Linked DNA regions of Homo sapiens: region 2 is linked to region 1. Evidence: promoter capture Hi-C in 16 types of primary human blood cells and fetal thymus (Javierre and others, 2016). All regions are on one chromosome and are shown on one strand. The core of a region is centred on a gene start or on the middle of the fragment in contact, and the rest is flanking DNA. Distances in the headings are between cores, read along the strand shown.

Region 1 (6,462 bases), core at 1,266-3,765:
TGGCAAATCCCATTTACTTTTGCAGAGAACAAGACTAGAATCGAAAACAACCTTCTCATGGAAAATCTAGTGCTTAGCCTAGGCAGTTTTCAGGCAATGGTTTATCTAACTTTAACTTCATGCTTAACATCACAAAGCTGGACAACAGAGAAACCTCCCTGTGACATAGGCTAACTTAAACTTACATCATCAACCATTTTCATCTGTAAAATATACTACAGAGCAACAACAAAAACCATCTTAACACTAAACAAATAGGAATGATAGGTGGTCATTGAGGCCATGGAAAACTTTTATTTCCCTGAGGATATTTTATAGTAGCATAATACAGGTATCCAGGAAAAAAACCTACCAAAAACTGAGTATTAAAATTGCTCTGAAATTTTCTAAGCTTTAATTTAGTACTAATCTATGTGTACACATAAACGTTAACTGCAAAACAGCCTTCTATTCCAGCAGTGGCTCTACGAGGTAGCCACTTTGGTTTCTTATAATTTACATTTTGTTGCAAACTCTAATAACGGCTCGAAACATAGACAAATCTTTTTCCACTGCGAAGGAGGTAAGCACTGGATTGAATACTAGGTCACTTCTCTAGGGGACTGTCTTTTTATTGAACAAGGCACGGCATAAATAAATGTTTAAATTCACTTTTTAAAATACTAGAACCCGGCCGGGCGCGGTGGCTCACTCCTGTAATCCCAGCACTTTGGGAGGCCGAGGCGGGTGGATCATCTGAGGTCAGGAGTTCGAGACCAGCCTGGCCGACGTGGTGAAACCCCGTCTCTACCAAAAATATAAAAAAATTAGCCGGGTGTGGTGGTGGGCGCCTGTAATCCCAGCTACTCGGGAGTCTGAGGCAGGAGAATCGCTTGAACCCGGGAGGCGGAGGTTGCAGTGAGCCAAGATCGCGCCATCGCACTCCAGCCTGGGCGACAAGAGCAAAACTCCGTCTCGAAAAAATACAAAAAAACCTGCAACCCAAGAAAAATAGTATTACTCTTTAAGTATACTGAGGCCCAAAACACTAAACAAAGGAAGACAGTAAAAGAAACGGGTTTAAACTCAATCACCTAAATAATAGAGGGGTATGGGGGAAAAAGAAAATCATCTGCCTAATCCCAGGCATTCCAATCGTTAGGAAGAGCAAACTTTAAAACTATCACTATGTTTAAGAGTCATAATTATTATCGAAAATGATGTAATTTTTTAGTCAGTAAAAAGGAATGCAAAATCTTTACATTTTCCTTTTAACGGAATAAAAATGAGGTAAGCACAAAATAATGTGGATCCGTCAGAATTGGGTATCTTATACACACGCAGGCTTATTGTTCAGAATAGATAATTTACGAACTGTAGCTCCTCTGGGGTCAACGAAGAGTTTTTTTTTTTTTTTTTTTTTTTTTTTTTTTTTTTTTTGAGACGGAGTCTCGCTCTGTCACCCAGGCTGGAGTGCAGTGGCGGGATCTCGGTTCACTGCAAGCTCCGCCTCCCGGGTTCACGCCATTCTCCTGCCTCAGCCTCCCAAGTAGCTGGGACTACAGGCGTCCGCCACTACGCCCGGCTAATTTTTTTGTATTTTTAGTAGAGACAGGGTTTCACCGTTTTAGCCGGGATGGTCTCGATCTCCTGACCTCGTGATCCGCCCGCCTCGGCCTCCCAAAGTGCTGGGATTACAGGCGTGAGCCACCGCGCCCGGCCAACGAAGGGTTTAAATTTAAAGGAACAAGGTCAGTGACAAGACTTAACTGTAACGCTTCTCGGACTTCAAATTGATTACATCACGGGCCACTTCGGAAACCGCGCATCAGTCAGAATTGGTAGTTCCACAACCTTTTAAGTTGAATTTTCACTCCCTTTCAGCAATACCTTCCTAGCTCGTTAATACACAATAATAAGGTTTACACGGACGAACACTAATTGAAATTATGCAACTAGAAGCATCTCATTGAGCGTACAAAAAAAAAAATAGCTACAAGTCGCTCTCTTCTCCCACACTACCCTTTACAGACACTGCCTTTTTGACCCAATACTTTTCAGAGACCACTCCTGATCGTCTTTCTCTTCCCCAGCCCCTTTCTCCACCGCAAATTCTCAGGCCCTAAAAAAAACTTAGAATAAATCACTAGCCAGGGTGAATAAGCGAAAATGGAGGAAGTTCAGTGAGGCGAAAGGAACGTAGGGTTGGGGAAGAGAGGAGGAAAGTTCTGGAAAAAAAAAGGCACTCCCTGCGGCTCCCCACCCCCACCAACACCGCCTTACTTCCCCCTCCCTACAGCAGGCAGCCATGATGGCGGGCGCAGAAGAAGGCCGCGGCGCCATTTTGTCTACACACATACACACGAACAAGGTTCTGGGAGCCGTTCACCCACTGTTGGAACGTAGCAGAAAAATATCCCTGGCTTTAAACTCAGATTCGGTACCTACCGCCATAGTTCAGAGTCCCGGCCGCTAGAGCGGCGCCTCCACTTGTCGCTTTCAACAGTACCGGCCGCTCCGAAGCTTCGCCTCAGACTAAATCGCTCGCGCGAGAGACCCGGATGGCACAAAGGCGAGGAGGCCCGGCGCGTCGCACAGCTTGCTGGGAGAAAAAGGGGCGGTAACAAAAGTTTCTATAACAACGCAATTCGAGGCGGTGATTGGGTGTTCTTTCATAGGGGAGTGTAAAGACCGTGAAGAGGGCGGGGCCAAGAATACACCCCCGGAATGCGCAGTCGGGAGAACGGAATGGGCGGAACTCAGGGTGGGGCAACTTCCTATTTCGAGTCTAAAGTAATCTTGGTCTCTTCCGGCCGCCGTAAAGGGGTTGGGTTTAGTGTTCTCCCGCCAATTTAAGCCTGTGGCATGGAACCTAAAGACTAGAGGCGGTTGTGTGAGTCAGGAAGAGGGGCCAGATATCTGAGTGTTCCTCTTTAGTTTCTTCAATTGCAGGTGAGGACGGGGAGCTGCGCTGTGTAGGGAACTGGGGGTGGGTTCAGGACGAAGTAGCTGCAGCCTCTGCTCAGTTCCTGTTGTTTTCCCCTTGACGCTGGCAGGAGAGAGGTTGGAGTCGGTTTTTGCTGGCGGCGATGTCCAGCGGAGAGCGTTTAAGTATGGAGGCCTAACTGACAAGTGTTTCATCTTGCTCATTCTCTCGTATTCGCGAATCTGTTCTGCATTCCGCCGCCAGAGTGATCTCAAAATTATAAAATCAGACCACTCGTTTGCTGAGTTCCCCTTCTACCCCTTGTACTGAGAATAAAATTCAATCTTGAGGTCGAGGTTTTATTGGACTCCACTGCTCTCTCCCTCACTGTCTTCTGCTTTTGCTTTGACCCGGCAGCAGCATCAAACGCTTCCTACCCAGCCTCCGAGTCTTTGCACTCTGTTCCCTCTGCCTACGTCGCGTTCCGCCTAAGTTTTGCGTACTTCTTGTTATTCAGGTCTCAGCTCAGATGTCACCTCCTTCCCTTCCCAAACAAATCCTTCTTCAGCGACGCCTCACCTTATCCATTTAATCACTGTTTCCTTCAAATCATTTAGCACTTTTTGTAATTATTTGTGCAGTTGCTTTTTTGTGGAGGTAGCATAACAAGATACGTATTAACAATTTTATTTTTGTCCGTTTTTCCCGCAAAAACATAAACTTCATAATGGCAAAGACATTTTGTGTTCTGTTCAAGCTATATTCCCAGTTCCTAGAAAGGTGTCTGGCACATAGTAAATAGGTATTCAATAAACATTTGTTGAATAAGTAAATATGGCAGTTACGGGCGGTTTCTCTATTTCACAGATGTGGGAAATTGAGACCCATAAAGGTATTCATTCCAACCTGTCCCTCCTTCTTCATCTCCTCACTCCCACCCAAACACCAGCCACTGAAACTTCTCTATTCTCCAAACATGTTTTGTTTCTGTTCCCTTGCTTATGCTCTTAGGAAGAACTCTTTAAACATTTATAAAACTATGATCTTCAATTCTCAGCCCAATAACAAATTAGCTAACACCTAAAATTGAATGTTTGCCATCAACCAAGCATTGTTCTGTGAACATTTAAAACTCAAAACATTTGGAGGCTGAAGCAGAAGGATTGCTTGAGCCCAGGAGATCAAGGCCAGCCAGGGCAAAATAGTGAGACCCTCGTCTCTCAAAAAACCAGAAGTGAAAAATAGAAAACTCCTTCAGGTGGGTACAACTAAATTAGTCCCTTGGTATTGGTATCCATGGGAGATTGGTTCCAGGACCTCCCACAGATACCAAAACCCTAGGATGCTTAAGTCCCTGTCATTAAATGGCATAGTATTTGCATGTAGCCTAGGAACATCTGCCTGTATACTTTAAATCATCTCTTGATTTCTTATCTTGCGTAACAGTGTAAATGTGCTATGCCTGTAGGTGCAATCTAGGGATGTGGAACACATGGATATTGACGGCAAACTGTATATATATATTTTTTTTCCAAGACGGAGTTTCACTCTTGTTGCCCAAGCTGGAGTGCAAGTGGCACGATCTCGACTTACTGCAACCTCCGCCTCCCGGGTTCAAGCAATTCTACAGCCTCAGCCTCCTGAGTAGCTGGGATTACAGGCGCACACCACCACGCCCGGCTAATTTTTTGTGTTTTTAGTAGAGAGGGGGTTTCGTCATGTTGGCCAGGCTGGTCTCAAACTCCTGACCTCAGATAATCCACCTGCCTAAGCCTCCCAAAGTTCTGGGATTACAGGTGTGAGCCACCGCGCCGGCCTGGTCTGTATATTCCTATTTTATAAATTAGAGAATTGAGGAACAGAAAGATTAAGTGATCACCCAAGGACAGCTGCCTAGTCATTGTGAAAGAGCACCAAGTCAGAAATTGTTTCTACCTTGTGCTATACCTTTTATAGATATTGAAACATACTTCTAGTAGCACTTATGAAACCAATTGTAATTATTTGATTATCATTCCCTACCAGTCTTGATCCAAGGATTGTTTTTATCCTTAGTGTTCTTTTCCCACCCAGACTCCAGGTAATATGGTTTATGTAAACCTTTGCTTTTTGAGATGGGTAAACCTCATAAGGTTTCAAGCTTAGTCTTTGATCCAGAAACCTAATTCATTTTTTTCTCCTCCCCTTATCATTTTTATTTGTTGTATAATAATACTATGATAGCATCAATGGACTTTTTCTGAACTTCATCTGGAATCTTATCATCCTATGATATCCCTGACAATCTGGCATCTAAACCTACACTGTTTGCTGCTATTAAAGGTTTATTTCTAATGAAAGGTTTATTTCTAATGAAAACTTGGTATAATTAAAGGTTTATTTCTAATGAAAACTTGGTATAATTCCAAACTAGACACACAAAGTAATGGAAGCTCTAAGATACATTGGTAAGATCAGAATTGTTGGTTTGTGTGCATAAACCAATATGTTGTTCTCTGGTAACCATCATAGCTCTAGTTCCATTTATGTTATTGGCCCGAAGTGTTTAGTGGCCACAGCAATAACAAGAAGACTAAGATGTCTGTATATGTTAATGTTAGACTTTTGTTTTTGTTTTGTGAGTAAGCTTTATCATTTCCCAAGGAACCAGGTTCTATGCAACAAGATAATATGGTGTCTAATTTTATGTTGTTCAGGAAAGACAGTGGTTCCTGACTCAGGAAGACAGTCTCAGAAACATGTGGAATGATATTGAGCTGCTAACAAATGATGATACCGGAAGTGGGTACCTGAGTGTCGGTTCAAGAAAAGAACATGGAACTGCTTTATATCAAGTAGATTTGCTAGTGAAGATCTCTTCTGAAAAGGTAGTGATTATTACACTGACTGTTTCATTCACAGAATTTTTACTGAGTGCTTAGTAGGGCTAGTGGCCCACAGTAAATATTTTGTGAATGAACATAGCACTTCCTCAGGGAATCAAGATTCAATCTCAGATTGCTAGAAATTCACGTCTGAATACCCTCTGCATCATGTCAGGATCAGTATTTTCACAACTGAAGGATTCTTAGTTCCTCTTGATATTTCATGCATACAAAAATATGTGTAAGTTGATACAAAGGATATCTTTTTTTTTTTTTTTTGAGACAGATTCTTACTCTGTCACCCAGGCTGGAGTGCAGTGGTGTGATCACGGCTCACTGCAATCTCTGACTCCCAGATTCAAGTGATTCTCGTGCCTCAGCCTCCCAAGTAGCTGAGATTACAGTTGTGTGCCACCATGCTCAGCTAATTTTTTGTATTTTTGTAAAGATGGGGTTTCTCCATGTTGGCCAGGCTGGTCTTGAACTCCTGGCCTCAAGAAATCCACCCACCTCAGCCTCCCAAAGTGCTGGGATTACAGGTGTGAGCCATCACTCCCGGCATACAAAGAATATCTACGACTGACTTAGGAAATAAAATGTTACAAATAGAGTTGAAGGCTCTGAGGGTCCATCCCTGAATCTGTGTTCCTCCTGTTTCCTACCAGAGTCAAGCACCCTGCTGAGTATGAGGTT
Region 2 (6,079 bases), core at 3,465-5,964, 860 kb after region 1:
GGAGGGGTCTGCTGTTGGTGCCTCCGCGGGAGCACAAGGAGGCTGTCTCTGGGAGTGTACAAAGAACCTGGAGACTGAACCAAATACTACTGCCAGAGGCAGTGTTATTACTGAGGGGAACATGCTAGGAATAGTAAGCAAACAGGCAAGAACAAGTCCCCTCTCTTCCTCCTGCCTCCCAGACTGCTTCTATCTGCTCTCATTGGAAGAACCTAACATTAACTGAGAACGGGGAATTATGGTTTGCTGCTCTGTATCACAGAACAGGGTAGAAATGTGGATATTACCCAGGCTGATCTCAAACTTATGAGATCAAGCGATACACCTGCCACGGACTCCCAAAGTGCTGGGATTACAAGCATAAGCCACCAGGCCTGGCCTGCCTTTTTTCCTTATAGCATTAATCACTATTTATAATGATCTTTTGGGCTGGGAGCAGTGGCTCATGCCTGTAGTCCTAGCAATTTGGAAGGCCAAGGTGGGCAGATCACTTGAGGTCAGGAGTTTGAGACCAGCCTGGCCAACATGGCAAAACCCCACCTCTACTAAAAATACAAAAATTAGCTGGGTGTGGTGGCGGGTGCCTGTAATCCCAGCTATCTGGGAGGCTGAGGCAGGAGAATCGCTTGAACCCGGGAGGCGGAGGTTGTGGTGAGCCAAGATCCTGCCACTTCACTCCAGCTTGGGCGATAGAGCAAGACTCTGTCTCAAAAAATAAATAGGCCGGGTGCGGTGGCTCACCCCTGTAATCCCAGCACTTTGGGAGGCCGAGGTGGACTGATCATCACCTGAGGTCAGGAGTTTGAGACCAGCCTGACCAACATGGAGAAACCCTTGTCTCTACTAAAAATACAAAATTAGCTGGGTATCGTGGCGCATGCCTGTAATCCCAGCTACTCGGGAGGTTGAGGCAGGAGAATCGCTTGAACCTGGGAGGTGGAGGTTGCGGTGAGCCGAGATTGTGCCATTGCACTCCAGCCTGGGCAACAAGAGTGAAACTCTGTCTCAAAAAATAAATAAATAAAATAAATAAATTAATTAAATTAAATAATCTTTTGGATGGGCGTGTGGCTCACGCCTGTAGTCCCAACACTTCGGGAGGCCAAGGCAGGTAGATCATTTGAGGTCAGGAATTCAAGACCAGCCTGGCCAACGTGGTGAAACCCCTTCTCTACCAAAAATACAAAAATATGCCCGGGCGCGGTGGCTCACGCCTGTAAGGCAAGCGCTTTGGGAGGCTGAGGCGGGTGGATCACTTGAGGCCAGGAGTTCAAGACTAGCCTGGGGAGCATGGTGGAACCCCGTCTCTACTAAAAATACAAAAAAGAAATAGCTGGGTGTTTTGGCGCATGCCTATAATCCCAGCTACTCGGGAGGCTGAGGCAGGAGAATTGCTTGAACCTAGGAGGCAGAGGTTGCAGTGAGCCGAGATCACGCCATTGCACTCCAGCCTGGGTGACAGAGCGAGACTCCGTCTCAAAAAAAAAAAAATAGGTGGGCATGATGGCACACTCTTGTAATCCCAACTACTTGGGAGGCTGAGGCAGGAGAATTGCTTGAGCCCAGGAGGTGGAGGTTGCAGTGAGTCGAGAACGTGCCCCTGCACTCTAGCCTGGATGACAGAATGCGACCCTGTCTTAAAAAATAAATAAAATAAAAATAATCTTTTAGGCTAGGGGTGGTGGGCTCATGCCTGTAATCCTAGCACTTTGGAAGGCTGAGGCAGCTGGATCACATGATGCCAGGAGTTTGAGACCAGACTGGCCAACATGGAGAAACACTATCTCTATTAAAAATACAAAAATTGGGCTGAGCGCAGTGGGTCACGCCTGTAATCCCAGCACTTTGGGAGGCTGAGGCCGTCATATCAATTGAGGTTAGGAGTTCGAATCCAGCCTGGCCAACATGGTGAAACCCCATCTCTACTAAAAATACAAAAATTAGCCAGCCATGGTAGTGGGCGCCTATAATTCCAGCTACTCAGAATGCTGAGGCAGGAGAATTGCTTGAGCCCAGGAGGCAGATGTTGCAGTGAGCCGAGATCAAACCACTGCACTCCAGCCTAGGGAGACAGAGAGAGACTCCGTCTCAAGAAAAATAAAAATAAATAAACAAAATGATCTTTTTTTTCTTTTTTCTCTTTTTTTTTTTTTGAGATGGAGTCTCTCTTTGTCGCCTAGGCTGGAGTGCAGTGGCGTGATCTCGGCTCACTGCAAGCTCTGCCTCAGCCTCCCGAGTAGCTGGGACTCCAGGTGCCTGCCACCACGCCCGGCTAATTTTTTTTTTTTTGTATTTTTAGTAGAGATGGGGTTTCACCGTGTTAGCCAGGATGGTCTCGATCTTCTGACCTGGTGATCCGCCCACCTCAGCCTCCCAAAGTGCTGGGATTACAGGTGTGAGTCACCACACCCAGCCTTAAAATTATCTTTTAAATAATGCCTTGTTTCTTCCCTAAAAGAATGCAGGGAAGGAGCTGTGTCTACTTTCCCTTCGGATCCTTGGGGGATCCAAAACAGCGGCAGGCATAGAGCTCAATAAATGTTGAAATAATCAATTTTGGAGAAAGCAAACACCTCTCTCTCTATATATATTTTTTGTTTGTTTGTTTGTTTGTTTTGAGACAGAGTCTCGCTCTGGTGCCCAGGCTGGATTGCAGTGGGACGATCTTGGCTCACTGCAACCTCTGCCTCCCGGGTTCAAGCACTTCTCCGCCTCAGCCTCCTGAGTAGTGAGATTACAGGCACGCACCACCACGCCTGGCTAATTTTTGTATTTTTAGTAGAAACGGGGTTTTCACCATGTTGGTCAGGCTGGTCTTGAATTCCTGACCTCGTGATCCACCTGCCTCGGCCTCCCAGAGTGCTGGGATTACAGGTGAGAGCCACTGCACACTGCCACACTTCCACATATTTATGGAAGCTGTAAGGCATGTTGGAGATTACGGCACCAGCTCCTTCATTTGACAGGTAGGGAAATGGAAGGCCAGAGAGCTGAACTGATGTGCCAAGTGACACAGTGACTTTGTGACAAAAGTGTCCTTTTCTACCTTTCCCAGTGCTTTCACATATATCATTTTATTTTCCTTTCCTATTTTCCTGGTGCTTTGGAAGAGTCTTTGGGCAATGGTTGGGTCTCCAAAACCTTTTCAATTACCAAAGAGACAGGATGGATTAGTGACCTCGTCCCACACCCCTGGGAGGGGCCCCAGGGAAGAGCAGTAGTAACTGGACGCCTTCCCTGAGTCCAAAGCAGACACTCCAGGACACCTGATTCTCTGGGAACATACTGACTGAGCCCCCTCTCTCAGAGGGGAACAGCGAATACTTGCTTCCCTCGGGATAAGGTAGCCATTTAGTGTTTGAACAGTGGAGAGACTGACCCAGGCCCTGCAATTACATTGCTGGGTGACCTTGGGCAGCGCGTAAGTGACCCGCTTCCTCTATTGCCCCATCTGTAAAATGGGTGGGTGTGAAGCATTAGGATCTTTGCGGTCCTGGAAGGACCTTCCCTACTGACCCAGTTAGTTGGTAGGAGTTGTGTCTGTGGGTTTTTTTTTTTTTCTTTTTTTGAGACGGAGTCTCGTTCTGTCGCCCAGGCTGGAGTGCAGCGGCGTGATCTCGGCTCACTGCAAGCTCTGTCTCCCGGGTTCACGCCATTGTCCTGCCTCGGCCTCCCAGGTAGCTGGGACTACAGGCGCCCGCCACCACGCCCGGCTCATTTTTTTTGTATTTTTAGTAGAGACGGGGTTTCACCGTGTTAGCCAGGATGGTCTCGATCTCCTGACCTCGTAATCCACCCGCCTCGGCCTCCCAAAGTGCTGAGATTACAGGCGTGAGCCACCGCGCCCGGCCGGGTTTTGAATACTGGAATATTCAATAAACCTTTTTTTTTTTTTTTTTTTTTGAGACAGTGTTTCGCTCTTGTTGCCCAGGCTGGAGTGCAATGGCGCGATCTCGGCTCACCGTAACCTCTGCCTCCCGAGTAGCTGGGATTACATGCTATTCTCCGGCCTCAGCCTCCCGAGTAGCTGGGATTACATGCATGCGATACCACGCCCGGCTAATTTTGTATTTTTAGTAGAGACTGGGTTTCTCTATATTGGTCAGGCTGGTCTCGAACCACGGACCTCAGGTGATCCGCCCGCCTCAGCCTCCCAAAGTGCTGGGATTACAGGCATGAGCCACCGCGCCCGGCCAAAACCTTTCAAACCTGAGAATGAATGGATCAAACTGCTGGAGAGGTCGGTGTGCTGGAGTTGCTAAACTGCTGGGAGACTCAGGTTTCCCAGCTCTTAAGGGAAGATCGAGGGGTCAAAGGTCGGGTTCCGGTCAAGCCCACAGAGAACCGGAAGTCCCAGATCCGGTCGGCTCGGAGCCCAGGGCTCCAGCCGGGCTACTCACGCTCCGGAGGCGGAGCTTCAGCAGCGGGAGGGGGAGGAATCTGGGGCCTCCCAATGGCAGCTCGGGTGTCTTCCATCGCAGCCATTCAACGTCTGGCGACGGTCAAATTTAAACACCCCTCCCACCTCCTCCGCCGGGACCTGTCGGGAAAGCGTTTGCAGTTATTGCGGCGGCTGGACACGCCCCGCCGCCGAAGAGGCGGGAGAAGGGCGGGGCCTTTCTCCGAGTTGGCCTATCACTACGGGCAGCCTGCGGAGAGGCGGGAGGCGGCGCCAATCGGGGCGAGCAGCTGGAGCCCGGCGGAGCAGTTGGCTGAGTTGTTGCAACTTTTTTCGAAAGCTGGGTTTCCCGGGAGATCCCAGGCGGTGACAGAGTGGAGCCATGGCTAGAGGTATTTGCCCAAGTGGCCGGCACCGGAGCGGCTGGGTCGGGGGTCGTGCTGGAGGGGTTGCCGGGGTGGAGGCAGCGGCTGCGGGGAGGCGTCCTCCTCGGGTGGCTCGGGGCAAGCTTGGGGACCCGCGTGGGGGGAGAGGGGGTGCTGCTGCGGAACCCGCCGGCCCCCCCTTGCGGCTCCAGATGCCCCCAGAAACCCTTCCCACTGCCGTGCTTCTGTTTCCCTTCTATGAAGTGAACACCTGCGGGCCTGCCTCTCCACGGCAGCAGATCCATATGTCAGAGCTCTTTGGAAACTAAAGCGCAGGGCACCTCCAGGGAATAGGTGTTATTGATAGAAGTGGGGCGGGGGCAGGAGTGAGGCTTCGCCCACTTTGGGGCCCTCTCTCTTTGGGAAAGGAGGTGATCCCGAGGCGAAGGCGCAGATCGATAACCTGCATATTGGGGTGCGCGTCAGGGTGGACACCGCAGCAGGCGCCTTTCCTCCCTCCCCACGTCCTGAGTCAGCTCTGCGCCGCTGGAGCGAAGGCCGGGCCCCGCTGGCCCACTTTGGGGTAAAACGGGTTCCTGGCATCTCGCGGGCGCGGTCGTTCGCCCCGCATCTGGTCAGGACTTCGCCCCCCGGTAGATGGCTTGGGTGGGCTTGTACAGCCCTGGGAGGCGATGCCCTGTCTGAAGTCCTCTGCATACTTAGTTGGCTGTCAGGACAGTGCCTCCCAGGTATGCGGCAAAGAGATCTCCAACCGCTTGGTCATTTCCAGCCACTGCGTCTCCTTCACGCCAAAGGGCCAAAAACTTGAGCGTGAAAGTTGAGTAGAATTAGTATTAAAAAAAAAAAAAAGTTTTGGTATTATATTTTTCTCAAAATTTCAAGGCTTCAAGTGTTAGTAGGAATTTGCTTTAGTGCAGTATGCTCCCTATAGCAATAATAATGAATAAAATAATGATTCATTCAGTAAATATCTATTGGGTCCCTTTGTTTTCAGGCCCTGAAGTCAGTTGCATCATCTATTCTCCTAGCATCCCTAGAGGTTCTTTTGGGATAAGACTTACCCAGAGCCTGATGAAAAAATGAGGCATAGTAAACTTCAGGTTAAAGAGCTTCATCACTCAACTCTTGGAGAAAATTAATACTAATATTTTTCCTTTGAAAAGTGTTAAGCATCTAAAAGTATATTTAACATTATCTGACTAATTTATCTGACAAATTTTAATAAAACTATGCTTCCTGGGTTCATTTTTCTCATCACAGCAAAATCATTTAAACTACTTGTTTTAAAAGTAGT

The links. The method cuts DNA at HindIII sites, captures the fragments that hold promoters and counts their contacts. A CHiCAGO score of 5 or more calls a contact.
Region 2: the fragment with the promoter of KMT5A here is called in contact with the fragment with the promoter of RSRC2 in region 1 in 1 of 17 cell types (erythroblasts); the score reaches 8.0 in erythroblasts.

What each region holds. Positions count from the first base shown.
Region 1 is chr12:122,524,421-122,530,882 of GRCh38, forward strand. It overlaps RSRC2 (arginine and serine rich coiled-coil 2), which reads right to left and starts at 2,516. Exons shown (of 10, transcript NM_023012.6): 1 at 2,428-2,516. The coding sequence starts at 2,433. It overlaps KNTC1 (kinetochore associated 1), which reads left to right and starts at 2,829. Exons shown (of 64, transcript NM_014708.6): 1 at 2,829-2,931; 2 at 5,571-5,772. The coding sequence starts at 5,644. RefSeq lists enhancers at 2,196-2,655, 4,763-4,862. The HindIII fragment of the contact is 2,543 bases long and covers 2,501-5,043 here.
Region 2 is chr12:123,379,418-123,385,496 of GRCh38, forward strand. It overlaps KMT5A (lysine methyltransferase 5A), which reads left to right and starts at 4,715. Exons shown (of 8, transcript NM_020382.7): 1 at 4,715-4,791. The coding sequence starts at 4,782. RefSeq lists silencers at 3,686-3,908, 4,836-5,005 and enhancers at 3,873-4,603, 4,126-4,345, 5,186-5,345. The HindIII fragment of the contact is 10,259 bases long and covers 1-4,905 here.